Linked DNA regions of Homo sapiens: all the other regions are linked to region 5. The links are contacts of gene promoters, found by promoter capture Hi-C in human tissues and cell types (Jung and others, 2019). All regions are on one chromosome and are shown on one strand. Each heading gives the region's core, a stretch centred on a gene start or on the middle of the fragment in contact. The rest is flanking DNA. Distances are from core to core; before and after follow the strand shown. Region 1 holds the start of TESK1 (testis associated actin remodelling kinase 1). Region 2 holds the start of FAM219A (family with sequence similarity 219 member A). Region 3 has its middle 10 kb from the start of HRCT1. Region 4 overlaps GBA2 (glucosylceramidase beta 2). Region 5 holds the start of DNAJB5 (DnaJ heat shock protein family (Hsp40) member B5).

Evidence for each region. Contacts are between HindIII fragments. The study calls those that stand out against the background at their distance.
Region 1: the fragment with the promoter of TESK1 here is called in contact with the fragment with the promoter of DNAJB5 in region 5 in 1 of the 25 tissues and cell types used here (spleen).
Region 2: a contact is called between the fragment with the promoter of FAM219A here and the fragment with the promoter of DNAJB5 in region 5, in 1 of the 25 tissues and cell types used here (hippocampus).
Region 3: a contact is called between a fragment that was not itself captured here and the fragment with the promoter of DNAJB5 in region 5, in 1 of the 25 tissues and cell types used here (spleen).
Region 4: a contact is called between a fragment that was not itself captured here and the fragment with the promoter of DNAJB5 in region 5, in 1 of the 25 tissues and cell types used here (dorsolateral prefrontal cortex).

Annotation. Positions count from the first base shown.
Region 1 is chr9:35,603,950-35,606,649 of GRCh38, forward strand. It overlaps TESK1 (testis associated actin remodelling kinase 1), which reads left to right and starts at 1,313. Exons shown (of 10, transcript NM_006285.3): 1 at 1,313-1,889; 2 at 2,035-2,156; 3 at 2,288-2,336. The coding sequence starts at 1,671. RefSeq lists an enhancer at 549-658 and silencers at 1,139-1,388, 1,419-1,718, 1,739-1,908, 1,843-2,137, 1,919-2,178. The HindIII fragment of the contact is 8,874 bases long and covers 539-2,700 here.
Region 2 is chr9:34,457,234-34,459,933 of GRCh38, forward strand. FAM219A (family with sequence similarity 219 member A) reads right to left here and starts at 1,337. Exons shown (of 6, transcript NM_001184940.2): 1 at 971-1,337. The coding sequence starts at 1,030. DNAI1 (dynein axonemal intermediate chain 1) reads left to right here and starts at 1,572. Exons shown (of 20, transcript NM_012144.4): 1 at 1,572-1,820. The coding sequence starts at 1,773. RefSeq lists enhancers at 1-3, 1,135-1,675, 1,238-1,532, 1,629-1,698 and a silencer at 1,009-1,258. The HindIII fragment of the contact is 10,660 bases long and covers 1-2,700 here.
Region 3 is chr9:35,894,401-35,897,100 of GRCh38, forward strand. No RefSeq gene overlaps it. Among named protein-coding and RNA genes, the nearest start is that of HRCT1, 10 kb to the right of the region's middle. RefSeq lists an enhancer at 990-1,489. The HindIII fragment of the contact is 7,635 bases long and covers 1-2,700 here.
Region 4 is chr9:35,744,372-35,747,071 of GRCh38, forward strand. It overlaps GBA2 (glucosylceramidase beta 2), which reads right to left. Exons shown (of 17, transcript NM_020944.3): 2 at 244-335; 3 at 1-41. Among named protein-coding and RNA genes, the nearest start is that of GBA2, 3.5 kb to the right of the region's middle. The HindIII fragment of the contact is 5,426 bases long and covers 1-2,700 here.
Region 5 is chr9:34,988,350-34,991,049 of GRCh38, forward strand. It overlaps DNAJB5 (DnaJ heat shock protein family (Hsp40) member B5), which reads left to right and starts at 1,396. Exons shown (of 5, transcript NM_001349723.3): 1 at 1,396-1,482; 2 at 2,150-2,463. The coding sequence starts at 2,282. It overlaps DNAJB5-DT (DNAJB5 divergent transcript), which reads right to left and starts at 1,030. Exons shown (of 2, transcript NR_109756.1): 1 at 810-1,030. RefSeq lists enhancers at 817-1,026, 1,581-2,510, 2,511-2,700 and silencers at 1,137-1,636, 1,151-1,299. The HindIII fragment of the contact is 21,862 bases long and covers 1-2,700 here.

The DNA.
Region 1 (2,700 bases), core at 63-2,562, 620 kb after region 5:
GAATTCCTGCAGGACTCAGCCTCGCTTCCTCGAGGAGCTCTCAGCCTGCCTCCGCACTCGAGACGGCAGCTTTCTCTCCCTCCGCCCACCGTTCCGCCGCTAGGTGGCAGGCGGCTCAACGACGCCCTTTTAAACCGTTTGCCCCGGAGTGGACCGCCGGGATCGCGTGTCACCACCCAACCCTAGCGATGATTGGCTATTTCGCCGAGGCCGGAGGAGGAACCAGCGGCAGAACCGGAAGCGTCTGGTACGGCGAGTGCACGGAGTCCTGAGACTGCGTGCGCACCCAGGCACCGCGCCGACTTAAAGAGGCCAGTTGCAGCCCCTCCTCCGGCCTTAGGGGGCAGACCGTGTTCCTACGTGGAGGGCGGAACCCTCACACTGAGGAGGGCTGGGTCACACTGAGGGGAGGAGTCACCTTGAGAGGAGGGGTCACAATGACTAGTGGATTTCCTCGGAGGTGGGGTCTCACTGCGTGGGAGGAACACAGAGCAAGGGGGTGCAGCACTGAGGGGTTCTGACACACTGACGGTGGCAGTGCCACACTGGGGAAAAGTGCCCCCGAAAGGGAGGTGTCTCACTGAGGAAGGGAGGGGTCTCCGAGGGACAGCGTTCTTTGAGGGGGGTGGGATCTTGCGGAAGGACGGGCTTCCCTGCAGGTGGAGGCTTCTCTCTTAGAGTCTTTTGGGCAAAGTAGTAAGAGGGAGGTCCCGGCTGGGTGGTCACAGGGCGGAGGACCTGGACTCTCTTCTTTATTGGGAGGCGGCAGGATGAAGTGAGGAGGAGTCGGGGCTAAGCTGGGTATGGGCCGGCCAAAGGCTTCCTATAGCCCCGGGGTATCACAACCTCCCGTGAAGGTAGAAGGTGTTAGGGAGGCCAGAGGTTCAAGGTGTCGGAGTCGAAGAGACCTGGGAAATGGGCAGGCTGGGCCGGGGCGCAGGCCAGGAAGGTGGACAGGTTGCTAGGCTACCTCTGATTGCGGCTGGGCCTGAGGGGCCTACCTTTCTGCCCCGTTGGTCCCTGGAGCCCAGGAATCCGGCAGGTTTCTGAGCCCGACCCTCAACGGACAGTAACCCAGGGAGGAGAGGGGACTCCCTGGGCAGCTAAGCTTCGCATGCGCACCATCAGCCCTTAATTCCCTCCCGTTATTCAAGCTCAGGCCGGAGCTTATTTGACCCGGGCGGCCCAGGGCATCGCGGCCGGAAAGCGGGGAGGCGGGGGTGCGCACCTGAGGGGGCGTGGCCGCTGCCGGGAGGCCGGGCTGGAAGGAGTTAAGCGGAGGCCCGGCCCAGCCCCGCCCCCGGCAGGCCGCGGAGCCTGATCCCCGGCGGCTAAGCGGAGCAGCCGCCGCCCGCCCGCCCGCCCGCCTCCGCCCGCGGCAAGCCAGCCCGCCGGCGCCCCGGAGCGCTGCCGCCACCGTCACCGCCACCGCCCGGTCCAGGCCCAAGCCCAGGCCCTGCGCGGAGCGGAGCGGCGCGGCGTCCACCCGGGCCCAGCCAGCCGGCGCGGCGGGGGCGGGTCCAGGATCTTCGGCGGATCTTCCATTCTCAGGGCGGGAGCCGGAGTCCGGGCGCCCGGGATCGGGCTGGGCCCGCGCCCATGGCAAGCGCGGCCTGCCCGGGCCCTGGGGACCCTGCCATGTGAGGCAGGCCCGGGCTGGGGGCCCGGCCATGGCCGGGGAACGGCCCCCACTGCGGGGCCCTGGGCCCGGGCCTGGAGAGGTGCCGGGGGAGGGGCCCCCGGGGCCGGGGGGCACGGGCGGAGGCCCGGGCCGGGGCCGCCCCTCCTCCTACCGGGCTCTCCGCAGCGCCGTGTCTAGCCTGGCGCGTGTGGACGATTTTCACTGCGCGGAGAAGATCGGGGCCGGCTTCTTCTCTGAGGTCTACAAGGTAGGACCGGCCGAGAGGGCAGAGGGGCGGGACCGAGCCTTCAACCAGAGGCTGAAACTAGGGGGCCGGGAGTGCGGGGAAGAGGGTCCAGACTCCGGCGACCCGCCCGACCTGCCCGGCCCTCGCCGGCTGCTCCTGCCCCCAGGTTCGGCACCGACAGTCAGGGCAAGTCATGGTGCTGAAGATGAACAAGCTCCCCAGTAACCGGGGCAACACACTACGGGAAGTGCAGCTGATGAACCGGCTCAGGCACCCCAACATCCTAAGGTGAGCGGCCCCAGTCTCTGGGCAGCTTGCTGGGCGGGAGAGAAAGGGAAAGATCCCGCGGGAAAAGTGGAACTGAGGAGGAGCTGAGGCCTTTAATAGCCTATCCTTCTATCTTCCCCATCCTCTTGCAGGTTCATGGGAGTCTGTGTGCACCAGGGACAGCTGCACGCTCTTACAGAGGTGAGGATAGGCCAGGAAGGAGGGATCCCCACCCCCCTTCACCCCCAAGGATAAAGGGAGTCAACAGGCCTGGTGGATCTACGGAGGACTAGTGAGAGGCAACAGGATCTCCTCTCAGGGGAGGCTTTCCTGAACTTTCCTTTAGGCAAACCACATATAAAAGGCCTCAACTGGTCTTATTCTCTGTATCCCCTAGAACAGTGCTGTCCAATAGAATTTTCTTCAGTGACGGAAATGTTCTCTATCTGTGCTGTCCAATACAGTAGCCACTAGCCACATGTGGTTAAATTTAAATTATTTTCATTGTTTAGATTATTTTTTGTGGGTCAACTTGATTAAAAAATTTTTTAAATTATTTAAATTG
Region 2 (2,700 bases), core at 87-2,586, 530 kb before region 5:
AGCTGGCTAGGCCTCCACGTCTCCCACCCGGTTGCCTGACAGACAAGCGAGGTCAGGGAGCCCCCTGGGCGGTGGCCAGCAAGCATGGTCTCCCTTAGGCCTAGCCTCGGTGCACCCGAGTTGCCCTCCCCCTTCCATTCCCTCCGCGCCAGCAGCGATGACATCATTCCTCCCTGACTCCGGGACCGCGGACAGGCGGCAGGATCCGCGCCCAGCAAGGACTTCAGGCACGTAGGCCTAAGATGATGGGGGCTCTTCCCAACCAGTGCGCACAGGCAGCTCCAGCGCGACCCCACTTCCTCTCCCGTCGGTTCCCGAGCACTCTCATCTGCACCCCGATTCCCCATCTGGTCGCCGCGCACTCTCCTTCCCGGTTTAGATGCCCCCAGCCTGGTCTGCCTGCGCTCCCCACCGGAGAACGGAATTCCCAGGTTCTGCACCAACCACCTTCCCCCACTGGGTCCCTCGCCCCGGCCCAGCGTTCCTGTCCGTATATCCAGCGGACAGGCGGGCAAGCCCCTCCTCTTCTAAAAGCTGATTCCCAATCTCTCTTAGCCTGACGGCTCCCCCGCCCTAAGCATCACAGGCCTCTAGGACTAAACGCCTCCCCACCTCCCATCCCAGACCCCTGGGCCTGCCGCCGGCGGTGCCCCATGGCAGTTCCCTCGCCAGTCCCTGCTATGGGCCTCCACTAGCGGTGTGCACCTTTGTGCCCCCTCCGTTCCATCCGACGGTGCCCTGCTTCCACCGACGGTGCCCTCCGCCCTTACAGGTCCCTTTGCTCTCATCCAGCATATTCTCCCACGGTTTTCTTGTCCTGCAAGTCCCCGTCCCCCGGCAATACGTTTTCAGGGATCTCTTTGCCCCATCCGATGGCGCCCCTCCGCACGATCCCCCCGGCCTGATTCCCTCCCTCCCCCTCAAGCGACGCCCCCTCCGGCCTTGGCCTGCCCGCCGCCCGCCCCCTCACCAGCGGCTGCATCTCCGAGTGCGCGGTGGGCACCTGGAACCGGTCGATCTCCTCCATCATGGTGCCGGCGGGCGAGCGGGCCAGGGGCCGGGCGCGGCCGCGGACGCCGACAGGACCGCGCGGGGCGGCGGCCCCAGGAGCCCGGCGGGTGGTGCAGACTAGGCCTCCCCGGACCACTCGGGCGGGCAGGGGCCGGGCGGATGCAGGGGTGGGCGGGGGCGAGAGGTTCGCAGACTGGCTGAGGCCGGCGTGACTCCGTGGGCTTGCCTAGCACTACCGCGGCTGTGGCCGGGCCGAGCCGCAGGTCTTGCCTCGCCTCCTACTCCGCTGCCGCCTCCTGTCAGCAGCTCAGCCACTGCGGTGACTCGGCAACTCCACTTCCGGGTCCGGGACACCGCCCGGATCTTGCATTATTCATGAGGAGGCGGTGCCTGGGGACCCCAGCCCCACCCACATGCGGGAGTTCCGAATGCGCGCGGCCGCCCAGCTGTGATTCCTGAGGGGGCGGGGCTTAGTGGAGACTCGCTCGCCGCGCGCCCAACCCCGCCTCCTTTCCGGGCCGGCTGGGCGCGCCGAAGCGCCTGCGCCTTGGCTGCTGGTCGGTTGCTGGGTAACCGCGTCAGGGAGTTGGATTCTATCCTGCAAGGGCACGGGGACCCACAACGACGGCTGTCCCTAAAGAACCGTTGCGACTGGTAACTGAAGTGGAAGAGAGTCCAGATTTCTTGTGTGTGGTCAAGGAGACGGACAAACTTTTTGTCTTCAGACGAGGGAGCGTTTTGTAGGCTCTCCAGGGGTTGAGATGATTCCTGCTTCTGCGAAGGCTCCCCATAAACAGCCTCATAAGCAGGTAACGTACGCACACCTTCCTTCTGATGACCTCTGACCTTCGTCGTCGCCAGTGACCACTAATCATACCTCTCCTACTGATCCTTGATCTTTTCTCTGTTGACCCCAGCCTTCTCACCCCCGTGACCTCTGGTAAGTGCTCCCACTGACCTCTGACTCTGTCCTACTCTTTCCCACTAATCCCGGCCTCCTCTCCCATACTACCCCAATCCACCGTTTCTTACCTCTCTCCTTTTATCCACCATTCCCATCTCTTCACTTCACTTTACCCCATGGACTCATTCTGACCAGTCTATTCTCCTTAACTTCCCCATCCCCATTCCCACGAGTCCCTTCCTCCTTGTTCTCACATTCTTGTCCCAAAGGAATTTTTCTTTTTCTTTTTCTTTCTTTCTTTCTTTTTTTTTTTTTGAGACAGAGGCTCGCCCTGTAGCCCAGGCTAGAATGCAGTGGCGCCATCTCAGCTCTCTGTAACCTCTGCCTCCTGGGTGCAAGCGATTCTCCCACTTCAGCCTGACGAATAGCTGGAACCAAAGGCATAGGCCACCACGCCCGGCTAAATTTTGTGTTTTTGGTAGAGACGGGGTTTCCCCATGTTGCCCAGGCCCGTCTCTAACTCCTGAGCTCAAGCGATCCTCCTACCTTGACCTTCCGAAGTGCTGGGATTACAGGCGTGAGCCACGGCGCCCAGCCTCAAAGGCATTCTTTATCCAACCCTTTGCTGTGTGCCTAGCTCCAGGCTAGGTGGGAACACAGCTCTTGCTGTTTGGGAGCCCACAGAGGGTGTGCAAGAGAACTAAACAGAATACAGGACAGGCTATGTGCAGGAGTGTGATTTTATTTTCTGTGCTGGGAGATTTATGAGGAGAGAAAGGGCAGGC
Region 3 (2,700 bases), core at 13-2,512, 910 kb after region 5:
AGTAGTTGGGATTACACACCCAGCTATTTTTTTGTATTTTTAGTAGATATGGGGTTTCACCATGTTGGTCAGGCTGGTCTCGAATTCCTGATCTTAGGTGATCCACCCACCTTGGCCTCCCAAAGTGCTGGGATTACAGGGGTGAGCCACCATGCCGGGCAACAGTGAGAGCTTTAACTCTCTAAGCCTCCTATGTAATGTGAGGACAATAGGTTTGTTGTGAGATCTAAAGATACATTTGTAAAGTGTAATTATTCTAGCAATTATTAAAATAGTTGGGGAGGAAAAGGAAAGGAGATTATTGCTTATGAATGACTCCTTTTGTGCTTTCCTTGTGAATATTTAGGTCCCAGAATTTACCCAGTGTGTTGTAATAATTTATATTTCTGTCTCCTGTCCTAGGTAAAAAGCTCTTGGAAGGCATGGATTGTCTTTTTTCTACCCAGCCTCAGCACCAGGCACAGAGTCTAGTTCAACAGATGTTAGTTATATCAATGAATATAATTCTAAGTGTCACAATTATCTTTAGATAATGATTTCAGAAAATTACAGAGACTTGAAAATCCAGAGAGCAATAAATCTTAGACTGCACAGATTCAATCTGTCTCCAGTTCTTCCCTCGTTGTGCATGAGGGCAAACTTAGGCTCAAGAAAGTTCACTATGTTTACTGCATATACATGTCTCAAAGCCCATGGACATGCTGCCCAGGGAAGGCAGGAGAAGCAGTCCCCTTGGATTAATCAGCTCCCACACATCCCCAAGGACAGTGAATCTAGGAGACCTCTTCCACCTGTTGGCATCTTTTTTTTTTTTTTTTGAGACAGAGTCTCGCTCTGTCACCCAGGCTGGAGCACAGTGGCGCGATCTCGGCTCACTGCAACCTCTGCCTCCCGGGTTCAAGCGATTCTCCTGCCTTGGCCTCCTGAGTAGCTGAGACTACAGGCGCACGCCGCCACACCTGGCTAATTTTTTTGTATTTTAGTAGAGATGGGGTTTCATTGTGTCGCCCAGGCTGGTTGCGAACTCCTGAGCTCAGGCAATCCGCCGCCCTTGGCCTGCGAAAGTGCTAGGATTGCAGGCATGAGCCACCGCGCCTGGCTGGCATCTTTAAAATGACACCAATGAAGCTTATGATTCTGGGGTCTAGCTGCTCTCTTCGTTGGTGAATAGGTGGATCACTTTGCAGACCTGTTCTACTTGGTGGGCATGCTTCTGAATATTTTTCTAAAGGTGCTGTAACTTTTGTTGCTTTCATTATTATACAAGTAAAATGTTTATTGTTGCAAGTTTTAGAAATGTAGAAATGCCAAATAAAAAGCAGTCACCTGCAAACTCACTGCTCAGAGGAAGCCCTATAAAGATTGCATCTTGTAGCTCTTCAGACTTCTGTCTGTGCGTGTTTATAGGTGTAACACAAACATTGCCAGCACTAACCACCCTGCATGTACAAATGAGGTCACATTTTCATGAATTCCTAGATTTTGCAGACCACACTCCCCATCCAAATAACATCAGTGCCTCAGTGTATTCACCTCTAGCCCTGTCTTCCTGTAGCCTTCCCCATTTGTTTTTGAAGCTCCCTAGCAGCTGCTGCACACATTTTGCACTTCATGCCTTTCTTCTCTCTCCTTCCCATCATCCTTTGGGGCCAGAAGGAACCAGGCTTCTCCCAGGCCTGGATATCATGGCCTCCATCTACCTTAGAGCTTCAAACTTCGGCTACATGGCTGTCGCATGTGGAATGGAGGAGCTTTCTACGTTATAGGAGATCTGCATGGGCTGGGTCCTCGTTTGGTCCTTGATTCAGTGTGTTGAAAGGGAGAGAAAAAAGAATTTGGAAAATCCTCTTAGGAAACTGGCTTGACTTACAGGGCAAAGTCCAATTTTGAAGGTCAAAGACTGCATGCATATTAAAGTCCTTCTCCTTGCATTCTTTTTGTAATAATTCAACTCTCTCTCCAGACAAATGCTCTGGAACAACTAGGAAGAAACTTACATATTTGGAAAAGTAACTTTAAAGAGCAGGTTATCAGTCTAGGCAACATAGCGAGACCACGTCTCTACAAAGAATAAAAAAGTTAGCCAGACGTGGTGGCACACACCTGGAGTCCCAGCTACTTGGGAGGCTGAGGCGGGAGGATTGTTTGGGAGGAGGTAGAGGCTGCAGTGAGCTCTGATCATGCCACTGCACTCTAGCCTGGGCAACAGAGCAAGATCCTATCTCAAAAAAAGTATATTACTACTTTTCAAAAATATTACCTCTATAGCATATAAGAATTTATTTAACAGATGCTTGTGGCAGGTTGTTTGCAAGTCTCACAGGATCCATATCCCCTGAAGTGCAGCCTGGACTATAATGCGGGCTCCTCCCTTTCAGACACATGGTGTGGTGCTTCGGTTAGTCAGGTCTTCTTTCACAGCTGTCAGTGAAGACTTGCTTTTTCTTTTGTTCATTGGTCTTCCACATCTCTTGTTAAGTTTATTCTTGTTTGTTCTTAGAAGTTTTATAATTTTTGTTTTAAGTTTCAATAATGCCTTCATTCTGTCTTTGAATTAGTAATTACTGTTATGTAGGAAAATCACCGATTTTGTATTTTTATTTTTAAATTTTAGAATCTAAATTTATTATTATTATTATTATTATTATTATTATTATTTAGAGATGGGATTTCACCATGTTGGCCAGGGTGGTCTTGAAC
Region 4 (2,700 bases), core at 7-2,506, 760 kb after region 5:
ACGGGTAATAGTGCCTCCCCCGATGCCACCCAAGGGACAACCTAGAGAAATCAGGGTGGTTAGTGGGGTATTGGGAGAGGAAAATAAGCCCATTTCTAACTTTCTAGACTATAAAGCCTGGTTCCTCTGAAAACCTAGGGGATGGAACAGTGCAATTTGCATAAGCTGGAAGTCTCTTCCTAACTGTGGTAGACCTGGAGGCTAGGCCTTCTCTGAGCAGAGCAGAGATGGGGTGGGGCTCACCATAAATCTGTCTTAGGGGTACAGAATTGATCATGTCGATGAAAGGTGTCTTCTTTTCCACATGGGTCTTCCGGTACCACCACTGCAGGTACCTGAGGAGCAAGAGGCAATGTGAGTGGAAGGGGGCAGGTGGGCAGCTGTTCACAGGCTGAGTCACCTGCCTCTCTCTGTGACCTCCCATTAAATGTCCCAAGGACATCTGCTTTCAAACCTTTCTTCCTCTTGATTTCTATACAGTTCAAGGTCCCTTCATCTTCCCAGTCACCCCAGCTGAAGTGAAGGAGTGGCTTTGTTTCTCTCCTTTGTTCTCCTCAGAAGGGGCTTTCTGATCTCTCCTTACCTCTCTAGCACCACCACCACTGCTTTATTTCCAACATCAGGAGCTTCTGTCTGACGTGCTGAAAGGACCATTTATGGTTTCCTGGCCTACAGCCTCCGCCCCCAATCCCCTACCTCCAAAACAGGCATAGGCTGCTGGGAATAACTTTCTTATCTTTATTTTTATTATTTATTATTTTTTTTTTGAGACAGAGTTTCGTTCCTTGTTGTCCAGGCTGGAGTGCAGTGGCTCGGTCTTGGCTCACTGCAAACTCCGCCTCCCAAGTTCAAGAAATTCTTCTGCCTCAGCCTCCCAAGTAGCTGGGATTACAGGTGCCCGCCACCATGCCTGGCACATTTTTTTGTGTTTTTAGTAGAGATGGGGTTTCACCATGTTAGCCAGGCTGGTCTTGAACTCCTGACCTCAGGTGATCCGCCCGCCTCGGCCTCCCAAAGTGCTGGGATTAGAGGCGTGAGCTACCGCTTCTGGCCTTTCTTCTTTTTAAAATGATCATTTTTCTTTCTAATTATGAAAGGTGAAAGGGGGAAAAAAATAATCTCACCCATAGACAATCAGTGTTTATATTTATTTCTGGACATTTCCTCTCAAGCCTTTTTTTTTTTTTTTTTTAAATTCAACATTTAAACTGTGAAGCTTTCTGATTTTGCTCTTGGTAAAGCCTTCAAAAAATCCCAACATTTTCCTGGGCTTGGTACAGCCCTATATCCAAGAGGCAAATGATTGAGGCTGTTTTCAATAGGCAAACGATTCTGTTTTCAAGGCTCTGACATCTGTCCCAGCCTATCTTCTAATCTTATTTCCTACAAATTCTCATTCCAGATGGGTCCTCACTAAGTAGCCCCTGCCCTGCCAGACTCTTTCCCATTTCCACTCTCCTGCCTACTGCCACATTATGCCTACTGTTCAGTCACACCACTTCTAACCAAATAATTGGGTAAGTAACCCCTAAGTCCCAGTTTCCTCATCTACAAAATGGGGATACCACCTGCTCTAGCTATCTAATGAAATGGTTGAAAGATCAAATGACATAATAGATAAGAAAGCCATAAAGTACAGGTATGATTATTACTCATATATACAAACTGTTATCTCAATTCCTAATCAGACATTGCCTTGTTATTTCAATGTTCCTCATGTGAGGCTGACATACTTTTAAGTTCCTTGGGGAAAGGGACAATGACAAAGACTAGCTGAATATTACCCTCAGGTCCAAGCACAGGGTAGGACATATGGTCTGCAGTCAATGCATATTTGCCAATTTTACAGATGAATGAACATACAAATGATGGGGCACAAGAGAGATAACAGACTGGAGCAGAGGAGAAGAAATGTGATTAATGAATAGGGACAGCGGCCAGGCACGGTGGCTCACACCTGTAATCCCAGCACTTTGAGAGGCCGAGGTGGGCGGATCACGTGAGGTCAGGAGTTCAAGACCAGCCTGGCCAATGTGGTGAAACCCCGTCTCTACTAAAAATACAAAAACATTAGCCAGCTGTGGTGGCAGGCACCTGCAATCCCAGCTACTCAGGAGGCTGAGGCAGGAGAATCGCTTGAACCCAGGAGACGGAGGTTGCACTGAGCTGAGATTGCACCATTGTACTCCAGCCTGGGTGACAAGAGCAAGACTGTCTCAAAAAAAAAATAATAATAAAATAAAAAGGGACAGCACATTCTAGGGGTGGAAAGAAGAGGGAAGACAAAGGATGGGATGACAGGAAGGCAGAGAATCCTCTCTGCCAGCTTAGAGAAAACCGGACTTTGAAACTAGAGACCAGAAAGGACTGGTAGAGGGAGGGTGTGGCCGAGGATTAGGGCAACCAGGGAGAGTAACTGCAATCTATGAGGACAGACAGAACAAAGGACTATCTGGCATGGAACAAGCACTCAATAAATATTTATTGAATGAGTGGACTCTGGCTGGAAGGGAGAACAATTGAAATTGAGTTCTTACGAAGGTAAGACCCAGAGAATTCTGTCTTGCTAGAGCTCCTGGTCAGAGTGCCCACAGTTCAGCTCCATCTTAGGAGCTCTCTTACTCCCTTAATATGGTAGCTGGCCATTCCTGACCTATTTGGCCTTCTCCACAATTTCAACCTCAACTCAAGAGTTATCAC
Region 5 (2,700 bases), core at 146-2,645:
TCATGGGTGTCCAAACTCTGTCTCTGGAAAATAGGAAAGAAAGAAGTAAAGGGGAGCTTCCGGCCTGACCCTTCTATCATCATCAACCCCCCAGCACTCCCCTCCCCCACTTCACCCCCAAATTACTCCCTCCCCACCCCCGCTCCCTCGAGCACAGATGGGCCTGGGAGACAGTGACGTGGGCGCCAGGCACCGTGTCTGCTGGAGTGGCGGCTTCCGCTGGCGACCGCCTCCGCAGCCCCGCCTGCTCCCTGCATCGGGGACACTGGGGCTGAGATCTAATGACTTAATGGGGGGTGGGGGAGACTAGAGATTCTGAGGGTGTTAAGGAAGGGGATCTTGGGGAGTGAGATGAAAGATGAAAGGGGAGAGCTAGGATAGGAGATCGGGGTGTAAAGAAAGAACCAAGAATAAGACAAAAGGGATCACTGCGGGAAGGAAGACAGGAGATCATCTAGGGCCAAGAAGGAAAGGGCTAAAACACAGGCACTCCAGGGGGAAGCAGGATGAGAGACTGATTAGAAGAGGGACTGAAATGGAGACCGCGGGGTCGCTGAAGAGGGGCGCGAGGATGAGGGGCTGTACAGAGGGTGGGCGGGGGAGATTCCTGGAGGCACCGGCCTGGGCAGAGCCATCCGTTTCCCTCGGGGGAGAGGTCCGGGGGGCTCTGAAACCCGGCATCCGTGGGGTCTGTTAGAGATTCCGTTAGGTCACATCAGGCCACCGCGGGGTCAGGATAAGGTAAAGCTAAATGAGGTCAGCTTGAGGTGGTTACACCGTTGGCTGAAAGGCGAGTAAGAAGTGCTGACCTTTTGGCCCCGGTCCAGGGACTACACCTCCCAGAGTGCACTGTTCTCTCCCTCTTGCCCCCCAATGAAGAAAGGAAAGAATGCACGGCCGCACGGCCAACTGGTGGGTACAGTTTTCCTTTAAGGCTGCCTTTGACGTCGCAAGGGTTCCAGAAGGTTCTCCTGGGATTCGAGCAGTGGCCAGTACGTCCCACCTTCTCAACCCGGAGATTGGACTAATATAGTTTGCCCCCGGGCTCGGGTCTGAGTCTCAGGCACGAACCAATAAAATCAAAGGGCGAGCGAGGTTGCCGCCCTCTGTCTTTTTCACCAATGGCACGACAAGATGGCAAAGAGGCGTGGTTGAGTGATCCCAGAGGGCGCCAATCAGATCCACACCAATCACTGCCTGGAATGTGTGCGCGTGTGGCCGGGTGACAGGGGCGGAGGATGGGCGGCTATCACCAAGCCGCTTGTTGAAAACTGCCCAATCACAGTGGAGGCTGAGCTGAGTGACAGGAAGACGGTTCAATGGGCGGCGCGGAGGCGGAGCCGTGGGGGCGGGCTCCCGGTCCCGCTATCGGCGGCCGGCGGGCAGGCGACTCCTGTCCCGGGTGGAGGCGGCGGAGCCGGAGCCGGGGGAGGGGGCAGCGGCTGTCTCACGGACCACGGCGGCGCCCGCAGCTCCTCACCGGTGAGGGCGCCAAGCCAGGACTCGGGGGTCCCGGGAGCGGGGCGTCGTGAAGCCAGGGCTCCTGGTGTTGGGGGGTTGGGACACTGAGGGCCCGTAGGCTCTGCTGCCTTGGGGATGCGGGGCCCCGGGGTCTGCAGGGTGCTCGGAGTCCTAGACCAGGGCTTGGCTGTCACAGGGGGCAGCCAGCGTCTGAGTCGGGGAGGGGAGGGGAGGGGAGGGTCGAGTCGGACCGGACCAGATTGGGTTCTGTGGGGCGGAGGCATCTGTGAGCAGACCAGCCAGCCAGCGCGGGTGACATCACCGACCACCCTCCCCCGCCCGAGCCCCCTCCCCTCCTCTCCTCGCCGCGCCTTTTGTCCCGGCCGAGCTCCGCTCTGCCCCGCCCATCTGCGAGGGAGGAGACTCCCGTCAGTGACTTCATTGAGTAGGTTCTTGGGGATTGGGGTCGGGTCCTCCCCAGTGAGAGGCGACAGGAGCTCACTGCCTCTCGGGCCCTCACAATCACACCTGTCACAGGTATACACGCTGCCACTCACAAACACACGCTTGCACTCCCAGCCTCACTGACACGCTGCCATACAGCCGCTCACAGCCAGCCAGACACTGCTGCACCTGAGAGCAGGTGGCCGCGGGTCTTCTCCCTTCACTCTCCACATTTGGGGATCAGGTCCGGCACCTGCTGCGCCAGACAGGCCTTGCTGGGCACGCGCCTCTGAGAGTCCAAGGAGGTGGCTTCCAGAGCTGCAGCACTTCAGGCCGGCTCCGGTGGAGCGATCAGAGGTGAGGGGCTTGGCTGGGCATGTTTAAGCGCACAGTGCTCTCCTGCCCACCCCCAGCAGCACCCCCACTGCAGGCCCGAGGAGCTTTCCGGAGCTTCCCACACTCCTGGGGAGAAGACTTCTTAGCCAGCTTGATGTTTAAAATTCAGCTGGAGCCCTTAAAACTTCGAGCGTGGACGCTGAATGGGTTTGTAAAGTTTCGGTAAGTCCCTCCGGAGAAGGGCACTCACACCCATACCCAGTCAAACCCTCCACGCGGCCATCCCCTCCATTGCCTTCCTGCTTCCTCCAACTCATCCTCATCCCCTCTGTGACATACAGGAACCCCCCTCCGGCCTCACCCACATATTTGAATGAATTGCACCCCTTATCATTCCTTTTCTCAAACCCTTCAGGTATCCATTTTCCACAGACATTTCCTCCATTATTTCAACTCTCC